Linked DNA regions of Homo sapiens: region 2 is linked to region 1. Evidence: promoter capture Hi-C in human tissues and cell types (Jung and others, 2019). All regions are on one chromosome and are shown on one strand. Each heading gives the region's core, a stretch centred on a gene start or on the middle of the fragment in contact. The rest is flanking DNA. Distances are from core to core; before and after follow the strand shown. Region 1 holds the start of PHF21B (PHD finger protein 21B). Region 2 overlaps SMC1B (structural maintenance of chromosomes 1B).

What was found. The method cuts DNA at HindIII sites, captures the fragments that hold promoters and counts their contacts. A contact is called where the count stands out against the background at its distance.
Region 2: a contact is called between a fragment that was not itself captured here and the fragment with the promoter of PHF21B in region 1, in 2 of the 25 tissues and cell types used here (H1 embryonic stem cells and spleen).

What each region holds. Positions count from the first base shown.
Region 1 is chr22:45,006,120-45,011,518 of GRCh38, forward strand. PHF21B (PHD finger protein 21B) reads right to left here and starts at 3,886. Exons shown (of 13, transcript NM_138415.5): 1 at 3,377-3,886; 2 at 2,426-2,491. The coding sequence starts at 3,430. RefSeq lists an enhancer at 2,265-2,866. The HindIII fragment of the contact is 18,572 bases long and covers 1-5,399 here.
Region 2 is chr22:45,398,987-45,404,669 of GRCh38, forward strand. SMC1B (structural maintenance of chromosomes 1B) reads right to left here. Exons shown (of 25, transcript NM_148674.5): 5 at 3,347-3,585; 6 at 109-367. Among named protein-coding and RNA genes, the nearest start is that of SMC1B, 12 kb to the right of the region's middle. The HindIII fragment of the contact is 7,606 bases long and covers 1-5,243 here.

The DNA.
Region 1 (5,399 bases), core at 2,636-5,135:
GGAAAGACAAGGCGGCTTTATTAGCATGCTGAACCACGGCCGCAGCCCCCTCCCCTCCCTCTTTTATGAGCCCTTGTTATATAAAATGCCACAAAGGGAAATGGAAAAACAACACCCTCGCAGTTAAAAACACAAGTTCCAATGGCCAGGCCAAATCCTGGCTGCTTACCCAATGTTGTTTAGTCATTTAAAAGGGAAACATTTCTAAAAGGCCGGAGAAAAAAAGTTTTCCTTGCTTTCTTTCTTTTTAAACACACACTCACACACACAAAAAGATGGAGGTCAGTTCGCAAGCAAGCCTCCTTCCCGGAGTTCAAATTTAAAGGCAAAGGCAGCCCGGAGTCGGAGAGCTCCTTCCCGAAGCTGCCGCAACCTTCAAACAGGATTTTCAAATGTTTCTTTCGGCTTATCTAAATTCCGGCATGACAGATAATAAATAGCGACTCATTTACTATCATCATAAAAATTTAAACAGCCTCGAAATAGTTGCTACAATACAGAAGAAATGATCAAACCCAAGCTCAGAAGAGTCATTCCAAATAGTAAAACTACTGCCAAGCAGAAACATAAAGAGACATTGTTCCAAGAAAAGCTCCTAGGTTATTGGATTTTTTCTTCTTCTCTCTCTCTTTTAAATCTTCTAGGAGCGTACGAGTCAACAACTTGCCGTTTTACCCAGTGAAAAAAGGGCTTAGTAACCCTCAGCTATCACACTGGACCAGATCTGGTGGCAGATTTTTTTTTTTTTTTAAAGAAAGTATCTGATTTGATTCTACGCAGTGATTAAACAGCTTTGTGCTCTGCGGAAAAGGGTCTTCCGACCCCTCCCCCTCCAAAAATGGCATCAAAGCAATCAAAATGGTAATGCAGGGCCTGGGTCCCCTCCCCCCGCCAACTCCCCGACTTCGCCGGGGCCGCGCGCCGGGCCCCCCTCCGGCGGGAATGGAAGCTTCCACTCCCGGACGGGGGCGCGCGGCCGGGGGCGGGGGGGCCGCGGCACCAACTGAAAAGGGTTAGCGCATTTGTCCCAAGCCTTCGGTCCAGCCCGGCGGCCCAGACCAGGCGCGGGCCGCGGCACTGCCATCTTCCTTTCAGCAAGCCCGGCCCCCCCCAAAACCCGCCACTCGCGCACGCCCCCTCCCATCACTTTTTAACTTTAAAGACTCGACACGAACGCCCGGCCTCCGAATTCTCTCTCGCCAGGGTCACCGGCAGCCGCCCCAACCTCGTCCACGTCTCTCCCCTACGCCAGAAAATCCCCCGGGGGAGGGGGCGTCCGATCCGGCGGCCCGGGCTGGGGTGGGAGCGCGGGGGCAGGCCCGGGCGGGGGCGCGCGGGGGCGGGCCCGGAGCTGTCCAAGTTTGGCGCTGGCGGCTGCGGCCGGCATTCCGAAGGAAACGCGATCGATGGCCGGGGGCGCGGCGCGGGCGGGGGCGGGGCGCGAAGGAGGGAGGGAGGGGGCAGCGGAGGGAGGGAGGGGCGCCGCCGCCCCCGTGCCCGCCACAGCGGTGCCCCCAGCACGCCATTGGCTGCGCCGCTCAAAGTTCTCGGCTCGGGGCTGCGCGGGGAAGGGGCGGGTGTGCGAGCGCGGGGAAGGGGCGGGTGTGCGAGTGCGGGGAGGGGGCGCGGCGGGGGAGGGGCAGCGGAGGAGGGGCGGGAGCCAGGGGGCGGGGGCGCGCGGCCGGCCGGGCTCTGGCGGCGGCATCTGTTCGTGGTGCTGAAACCCCGAGCGCTGAGCTCAGCGCAACTAAGTCACAATGGACAACTTTTCCTCCCCGGAGGGGGCCCGGAGGGGGGGGAGCGGTCGCGCCTCCGACGCGTGGGAGCTTCTCAGGTGTCCCCAACTACACCTAACGCCCGGAGCCCAAAGTTGGAGCAGAACTGGGGAGTCCCGGGGGCGCGTTTCTTTTGTTCCCCGGGAGCTGGCGTCAGGTTCCAAGAATAAAAAGTGAAGCTAGGGAAGTGGAAGGTGGTGGGGGGGAGGGAGCCTCGAGGAACGATTTCAAAACGAGGTTTGCCACGGAACCCAGAAATCGCTTCCAACGAGTTTGGTGTCCAGGCCCCCACGGCCGCCCCCCTCCGCCCCCATGGCCGCCTCAGCGCAAAGCGGGGGACTCCGAGCCGGGAGAAATCGCCACGTTCCAAAAACATGTCCACCACCTCAAAATGGACGCCGGGCCGCGCGCTGCCTTTTAAGTGAGCTCCTCTCTTCGGCCCCCGCAGGGCCCGGCTCTCCCTGCCGCCTCCGAGAACCCGGCTCTTTCTTTCCAGGAAAGGGGAGGGGTGGGGAACTTTGAGAACTGGAGACAGACCCCTCTGGGAGTCTGAGCGTGCGTCGCCCAGGCTGGCACTTTTTAGGGCGCCGCCAAAGTGCCCAGCCACCCTCCCGCCCCATCCCAGGGGGGGCCGCGATCCCATCGCTTACTTGTTTGTCGCTGAGCGCGGCGATCCGCGGCTGCCTTTCGTGGAGCTGCTTCTTGAGGTCGCCGTTCTGCGGAAACACGGAGGAGCGGGCTCAGGCAGGCCACCCGGGGTCAGGTGCACCCCAGCACCGCGGGCCGCGGCACCCCCCGCCCGGAGCCCCACGGGCGGGGCCGGCCGCAGCGCACCCCAAGTTTCCCGGGCCGCGTCCTGCACGCGCGGCGGCCGGGCAGTGCCGCGCGGGGCCGCTTACCTGTGGCTGCCGCCTCATCGGGGCAGCTCGCGGGGCGGGGCGGGGGCCGAGGCCACCCGGCGGCGCGCCCCGAGCCGTGCAAGTTTGCAGGCCGGGGTGCGTGTGCGAGTGAGTGTGAGTGTGAGTGTGTGCCGGGGGAGGGGGGAGGAACAAAGAGCCAAGTAAACACGGCGAGTCCGTGTCGAGCAAAGCTCATAAATATTCAAGTCGCGTCCTAATCTCCCCAACACACACACGCGCACGCCGAGCCCCGCTCAGGCTCCGGCCGCCACGCCGCCGCTCGCCAGCAGCGATCGCCAAAACTACTTCTGCACACCGGGCAGGTTCGCCCGGGGCGCGGGGGCCCGAGGGGAGGCCGGAAGGGGGCCTATTCGCACTCCCCTCCCCGGGACCGGCTCACGAAGGGGCCCCCTCCAGGCACCCTCCCAGTCATGCAGACCCTACATCGCTTAAGAGAAGACTCCAGGCTCGGGTCCCACGCGTCCTCGATCCCGCAAACTGTGCAGGACAGCGCCAGGGGCAGGCGGAGGGGAGCCCAGAAGGGGGTCCGCGCGTGTGCTCACTCCCTCGCCCCCCGCCCCCGGGCAGGCTCCAGCCTGGAAGACCCAGAGACCCGGAAGAGAGGATGCTGGGCTCGGGTCCCCCGACCCCCTCACCCCGCAACACACTCCCCGGCCCCGGGCCCGGCCCCCGGCCACCTACCTGGTGGCGCGCGAGTTCCACGGCGAGCGCCTCGGGCCGGCTCTGCAGCTCCATCCCGGCAACTTGGGCAGCACTTTGCGCTCACTTTGGCCCGGGCTCCCGGGAAGTTGCGCGGCTCCGCGGGGGCCAGAGCGGGCGCGGGCGGACGCGGCCTCCGGGCTGGGTTGGGGGGGACACGAGCCCCCTCCCCCACGGCCGAAAGGGAAGGGGGCTGGCGAAGGGGAAGACAGGCTTCCGGGCGCCGCGGCGCCGAGCCCTCGGCTGCCCCAACTCCTCAGGCTGCCCGGCAAGTTGCGCCGGGTCCCCGGGCTGCCGGCGCGGCCCGGAGCATGGCCCCCCCGGCGCCGGGAGCCCCGCGCAGCCCCGCGCGCGCCCGCCCAGCCGCCGCCGCCGCCGCCTCCTCCCGCGCGAGCCTCCCGCGGGCAGGGACTATATTTCCTCCGGCGCGCGCGCCTGGATCTCGTTGGGCCTCGGCAAAGTTGTGCCTCGGCACGATGCTAATTCGGCAGTGCCCGGATGGAGCGGGCCGGGGCGGCGGGGGGCGGTGCCGGGACCCTCAGCCCGCCGCGCCCCGCCCCCGCCCCGCCCGCGCCTGCGCACTGCCGCCCCGCCGCGGCCCGGCACCCCGAGCGGAGAACAAAAGTGGCGGTGGACGGGGACGCACGGTCGCCGGCTCCGGGGACTGCTCGGGCCGGGCGCTCGGAGAGGACGACTGCGGAGTCATCCTCTCCGTCCCCGGGCCAACCCGGGGAACGCGGCGCCCCCACCCCCTGCGCCGTGTAACGCCGGGATCAGGACACTTTCCGCTGGGAGGCTGCGAGTCCGTGTTTCCATTTCTCCTCACCCTGGTCCTCGGCTCCCTCCTTTCCCCCCTCCTCCGCCTCCCTCTGATATTTTATTTAAATTCTTCCGTCCCCTCCTGTCCATACCAGCGCCGCGACTTGGGGGATTAAATTAGTCGCGTCGCCACATTCCCCCGCCGCCTGATGGCCTCCGTGTTGTTTAAACAGCAAGAAAATTGATCTCTTGGCTCTTCCTTTAATGATTTTTTTTTACACGATTAAACTCTCAACAGATGTCACTGGACATTTTAAGACTCTTGTTAAGAGTCGTAAACAGGCCCGGTCAATGCGACCTAAAACAATTATAATTACAGCTGCGGAGGTCGCGTTTCAGAACCCCCAGCCGCGCAGCCAGGAGGTTAATGTCCCAGAGTCACTGTCACCACCTCGGGGCTGCCATCTTCATTCAGGTCGGAGTGCCGGGTGCCCTGTTGGCAGCAAACTGGCACGTTTGAAACACGCTGGGGAGAAAGGGTGCAATCATATGTCAAAGTAAACGTTTAAGCTGTTAAGTCGTTTTAACTTCAGATTCCTCTCCGGCAGCACAAAAAATACCCAAGCAAGCACCATCAGCAAATGTCCCTTTCAACATATGCCAACAGGTCACACATTGCTTTTGTTGGCAGAAGTTATTGGAATTCCCCCTTTTCTTTCTTTTCTTTTTTTTTTTTTTTTCAAGTGAGGACCCCAGTGTTGTTCTGCTCTCTGTTAGGGAATTTGTAATAAATTACGTGTTTGGGACCCCCAAACACAGATGGCCCCTCATCCCACAACCCAGCACCTCGCCTTCAGAGCACGACAGAGTGAGACTTAGGATATGAGTAACTATGCAAAAAGCAGAGGGGCATGTAGATGACCCTTACTTTAACCCAAATTAGTTAACAGAAACTTGCAAACAGCGCTTTAAGACTCCATAGGAGGCCGGCCGGGGGCGGTGGCTCACACCTGTAATCCCAGTACTTTGGGAGGCCGAAGTGGGCAGATCACGAGGTCAGGAGTTCGAGACCAGCCTGCCCAACATGGTCTCGACTAAAAATACAAAAAATTAGGCATGGTGGCGCAAGCCTGTAATCCCAGCTACTCGGGAGGCTGAGGCAGGAGAGTTGCTTCAACCCAGGAGGCAGAGGTTGCAGTGAGCCGAGATTGCACCACAGCACTCCAGTCTGGGCAACAGAGCAAGA
Region 2 (5,683 bases), core at 191-2,690, 390 kb after region 1:
AGGATAATCTCTTAAAATATCAGAGAGGTCATCTTTTAAATTTTTTTCTAATTCAAAGCAGCTGAAATAATAGAAACACAAGATTTCCCCTAAGTTGTCCTTTTTTACCTGACTGGCTTCCAGTTCAATGTCTCGCTTTTTATGTAAAATTTCTTCCTCAATCTGCTTTTCAAAACTTCTCCATGCAGCATCTAAATCAGCCAGCTCTGTCTCCAGGGCTTTTATATCATCTTCCTGTTTAGAACATTGTTTTTCGCTGTCCTTTATTGATTTCTTAGCCACATCTAATTTCTTAAGGTGGTGAGAAGTGTTTTCTTTGGCTTTAATGTACTGAGGCCTCTTCTGATTTAAAAGGGTTTCAACCGATCTGAAAAGGGAAAAATGTTTGCTTTAAAGAAAATTTCATTTCTTTAATATATAAAGGGAAGAAGTTGTTTTGATCAAACCACTTTAAAAAAGAAATCCTAAAAATCAACTTTCAGAGACTGTAAGCAGATCAATGGTTGCCAAAGGTTGAGCAAGGTCAGGGGGAGGGATGAATAAAGCACACGGTCACTTTTGAGAGTGGTACTGTAGTGGTAGACACTTGACACTATGAATTTGCCAAAACCTGTATTACTTTACAGCACCAAGGATGAACCTTAATGTAAGCAAATTAAAAAAGAATCACTCAGGAGGCTAAGGGATCCTATATGGAATGTAGAATGCAATAAAAAATCTAACTTTATTATAAATGTAGAAACAGCCTTACTGAAGGGGTGGAAGGAAAACATGCTGACCTAATTCTAGAAATGAGTGGAGTCTGTAAGACTAAAAGCAAAAGAATTGTATATAAGTACTATACTGTAGTTACAAAGATGCTTTCCATGGGGGTACGGGTTAACAATTCTGACGCTATTACACGTGATTACTGGAAATGCACAATTAAGCAAATGGATGGCAGATGGTAGAAGCCAGATTTCCCATTGTTGAAGTGGGAGGTTACAGATAAGCAAGAGAAGGCTAGAATGATTAATGTGGTAATGGCTTAGAATTGGGAGACATCAATATGAACTCATGTTTAGCTTAATATAGATGGTCACATATGAAAATATTTATAGCTATGTGTATAAATAGTATACACAGGTATTTCCTAGTTCCAACAGCTGAGAAAGCCTAGAAGCAAGGACACTCCAGTAGCAACGAACACACCTACCACCTAGATGTTGGTTCCTAATACTGTTCTCCGATAAAAGGAACCAGGGTTCCTTGGAGAGCCTGGGGCAGGCTCATACAAGCTGGGGCAAGCTGATGCTTGGACTGGCTTATACAAGATGACAGTAGAAGATACTTATCTTCTAGAAAGTAAGGAAGAGCTCCAAAAAAAAATCACAGTAATGAGAATATTTCAAAGGGACACAGGAGCCAACTCAAAGAGTTCTCAGTGGCCACAGCAGGAACAATCTAAGCAACAAAATCAACAATGTAATACTGGATTATAACTCTAAATGTAAAATATCCATAAATCTATACTGATGTAAACAAATAACAATTAATTTAATTTTAAAATAATTAAGTAGAGACAAATCTGTGCAGAATTCCAAAAAAATCATGTAGATACTTTGCCCTCAAGGTAAAACATAACTCTCCTTACTCCTTAAGTGTGGGCTAAGCATAGTGACTTCCTCTCAAAGATTATAGTATGAAAAGGGAGAAAAAATAACCTCACAGAGGAGAAACATGACAAAAACTACTTCAGTCAGGTGATCAAGGTCAACATCAACAGTGATACCATGTTGATATGACACATGATATAGTACATGATAAATGTCATGTAACATATATAATACACTGACACTCTGATAGAATATAATGAGAAGGACATTTTACTTCTGTGGGCTTCCTCCCCACAGTCTGTATCTTCAGTCTAATTATGTGAAAACCATCAGACAAATCCGGATTGAAAGATGTTCTATAAAAAAACTGACCAATATTCCTCAAAATTGTCAAGTTCATCAAAAACAAGAACTGTCACAGCTAAAAGGTGCCTAAGGAGACATATAACTAAATGTAATATGGTATTCTGGATCATAAAAAGGACATTAGGCAAAAGCTGAGAAAATATGTATAAAGTATGGACTTTAGTTAATGTATCAATATTAGTTTATTAATTCTGACAATGTATCATAATAATGTAAGATATTAATAATAGGAGAAACTGAGTGTTGGGAATATGGGACTGATACAGGGGCTAAAAATAAATTATTTAGGCAGATAGTGAAGGTTAAGAGAGTCCTCAGCAGAGCTTCCCTTTTAACGAAAAGCAGCCCCAAAATCATTTCTTTTCTAACAAAGAGGAGCCTGAAAAATTAGGCTACAAATGGGGTACATAAGCAAGCTGGAAGCTTACACGAGTGAATGCCGGCAGCTGAGCCAATAGAAAAGGGGTACTCAGAAGCCAGCTATGTTCAACATGAAGGCTCCATCTTCCCTTTTCTTTGTCACCACGTGTACAGTAGAAAAGCTGGCAAACATGGCGCCAGCCAGGTACAGAATCTGCATAATAAAAAATTAGGGTGGGATGGCCAGCTTCTTTGTGCACTATGCAAATGGCACATCTAGTCCTAAGCGGTTCTTCACGTGCTATGCAAATGGAATACCTGATCTGAACAACCCTTCATGCCCTAAATCAGACACCGCCTCCTCAAGCTCATCTATAAAACCGCCTGTACTTCACTGTGGACCAGAAGACCCAATTGGGAGCCCCTCTCTCTGCATGAGAAAGCTTTTCTCTTTCTTTCACCTATTAAACCCACTCTTAACCTCACTCCTTGTGTGTCTGCATCCTTGATTTCCTTGCTGTGAGGCAATGAACCTCGGGTATTACCCCAAACACCACCACTTCAGGACCATTCTACACCACCTTTTTTTTTTTTGAGATGGAGTCTCACGCTGTTGCCCAGGCTGGAGTGTAGTGGCGTGATCTCGGCTCACTGCAAGCTCCACCTCCCAGGTTCATGCCATTCTCCTGCCTCAGCCTCCCGAGTAGGTGGGACTACAGGTGCCTGCCACCATGCCCAGCTAATTTTTTGTATTTTTAGTAGAGACGGGGTTTCACCGTGTTAGCCAGGATGGTCTCGATCTCCTTACCTCGTGATCCACCTGCCTCAGCCTCCCAAAGTGCTGGGATTACAGGCATGAGCCACCACACCTGGCCTATACTATCTTTATAATTTTTCTGTATATCTAAAAGTATTCCAAAGTAAAAAGCTTATTTTTAAAATCAATTTTCAAAGTGTCACTTATATTATTCCCTCTATCAAGCTACATATAACCCAACTGTTAATATCTACTTTTAAAAACTCACTTTAATTCTTTTTCTGTTTGTTGTAGTTGTCTAGTTAGCATTCCATGTTCCTTTTTCCTGGCTTTAACTATGTTTTCATGATGAGACAAAGACTCTCTTTTGACACTCAAATCCCTATTCACATGCTCTAACTTGGTGTTCAGGAGATGAATCTTTTTCTCATTATGGTATAGTTGAAAAAGCTGCAGTTGTATCTTGTTCATTTTCAGTTCTTCAAGGAGACTCTGGTAACGTTCTGCCTATAAAAGAGTATAATTCAACAGCAGTTAAAAGGGAGTGTATTTAAGTTGGCCTTTCATAAACTCAACTACTATACCAACAAATTAACTAATGAATGTTTATTTATTAGGACATAATGTTCTTGCCAAAAGTAGCATAATTTGGCGAGGGTTTCTGAATATACTTTTTAAATAACCCAATACACCAGCAAATGATTTTGTGTTCTTGCGCTCAGTGGTATGATGATGAGAACAAAGAAGTGGCATGCATTAGCCTGGGTCCCTTTTGTCTGGACCTGTGAGTTTCACAACTCAATCAGTATTTCTGGCATCAGCTTCCTCCTTTGTAAACTGAAAGAAGAGTGTGATATGACTTATAAGGTGCTAGTAACTTTAAATTCAATGACTCCAGGAAAAATTCCTACTACAGGAAGTAGTTTTTCTACCGATAAAACAGGACTCTTACAGTGCTAAATTATATGTGAAAAATAATAATTTCCTTAACATTTGTGCTATTAAAGAAATAAAGGAACAGGCTACCTCAAGAGGAGCTCCTAATCAATATTGGAAGTATTCAAAGTAACAGGCTATCCACTAGGATGTTGTAAAAAACAATTAGGAAGTTGTTTCGTTCTAACTGTCCTTAAAATGTTTAAATTTTGCAGTTCAGTATATTGTGATTATTATAGTCTGACTTCCACTGCTGCCACTCCTTTCCACTAACAAAACCAAGGACATGTATACATATTAGAAAACATGAAGACACAGAGAAACATCACTAATAAGAAACATCCACTTTCCATTTACTTCTTCAAATATGTATTGAGTATCTACTATGAGCCAGGTGCTGGTCTATGCATTGAGAATATAGCAGAAAATAAGACAGACTATCCCTGATCCTGTTTGTTTGTTTGTTTGTTTGAAACAGAGTTTTGCTCTCTCACCCAGGCTGGAATGCAATGGCACGATCACAGCTCACTGTAGCCTCGACCTCCTGGGCCCAAGAGATCCTTCTGTGTCAGCCTCCTGAGTGGCTGGAAAGACAGGCGTGTGCCACCACACCAGGCAAAGTTTTTTATTTTTATTTTTGTAGAGATGAGGTCTCACTATGTTGCCCAGGCTAGTCTCGAACTCCTGGGCTCAAGGGATGCTCCCACCTTGGCCTCCCAAAGTACTGGGATTAAAGATGTGAGCCACCATACCCAGCCCAACCCTGCTCTTGTGCAATTTATATTACAGTTATTCTAATGGGGAGAAGAGAGGAAGAAAAGTCAGAGAATAAACACAAGGACTAAACTCTGATCTTTTTTCTTCTCTTGCCCAAATTTCTATCTAAGGAGCCTGGGGAGTCTGCTCTACAAAGTTTCATCAGAGGGTGTTTTTTGTTTGTTTGTTTGTTTGTTTGTTTTGAGACAGAGTCTCACTCTGTCGCCCAGGCTAAAGTGCAGTGGTGCAATCTCGGCTCACTGCAACCTCTGCCTCTTAGCTTCAAGTGATTCTCCTGCCTCAGCCTCCTGAGTAGCTGGGATTACAGGCATGTGCCACCACGCCCAGCTAATTTTTGTATTTTTAGTAAAGACAGGGTTTCTCCATGTTGGCCAGGCTGGTCTCAAACTCCTGACCTCAAGTAATCCACCTGCCTCGGTCTCCCAAAGTGTTGGGATTATAGGCATGAGGCGCCATGCCTGGCCAGAGGGGTTTTATTCACCCTATATCATATAGCTTACTTTCCAACCTGATGCTGGCATAGTATCACATGACAGATAAGGAAGGAAATTAAAATATTTTAACTGCAAATATGTTTCTTTGCCATATCTTGAAATAGCCGTGCAAAGTTGTCTCTTGTGGGGAAAAAAATCTACATTCTGTAGAGAATCCCCTTTCCCTTTTCCAAACCTTTTTTCCTGAACCAGGAGACAACCAACTAAGAGTCCCATACCTTTTCAAGTCTGATAAGAAACATTTACAATGTATTCTCTCTGAAGCCTGCTACCTGGAGGCTTCCTGTGCATAACAAGAACATTGGTCTCTACAATCCGTTATCTTAATCCAGACATTTCCTTTCTATTGATTCCAGGTCTTTAGCTAAAACTCTTTCAATCAATTGCCAATCAGAAAA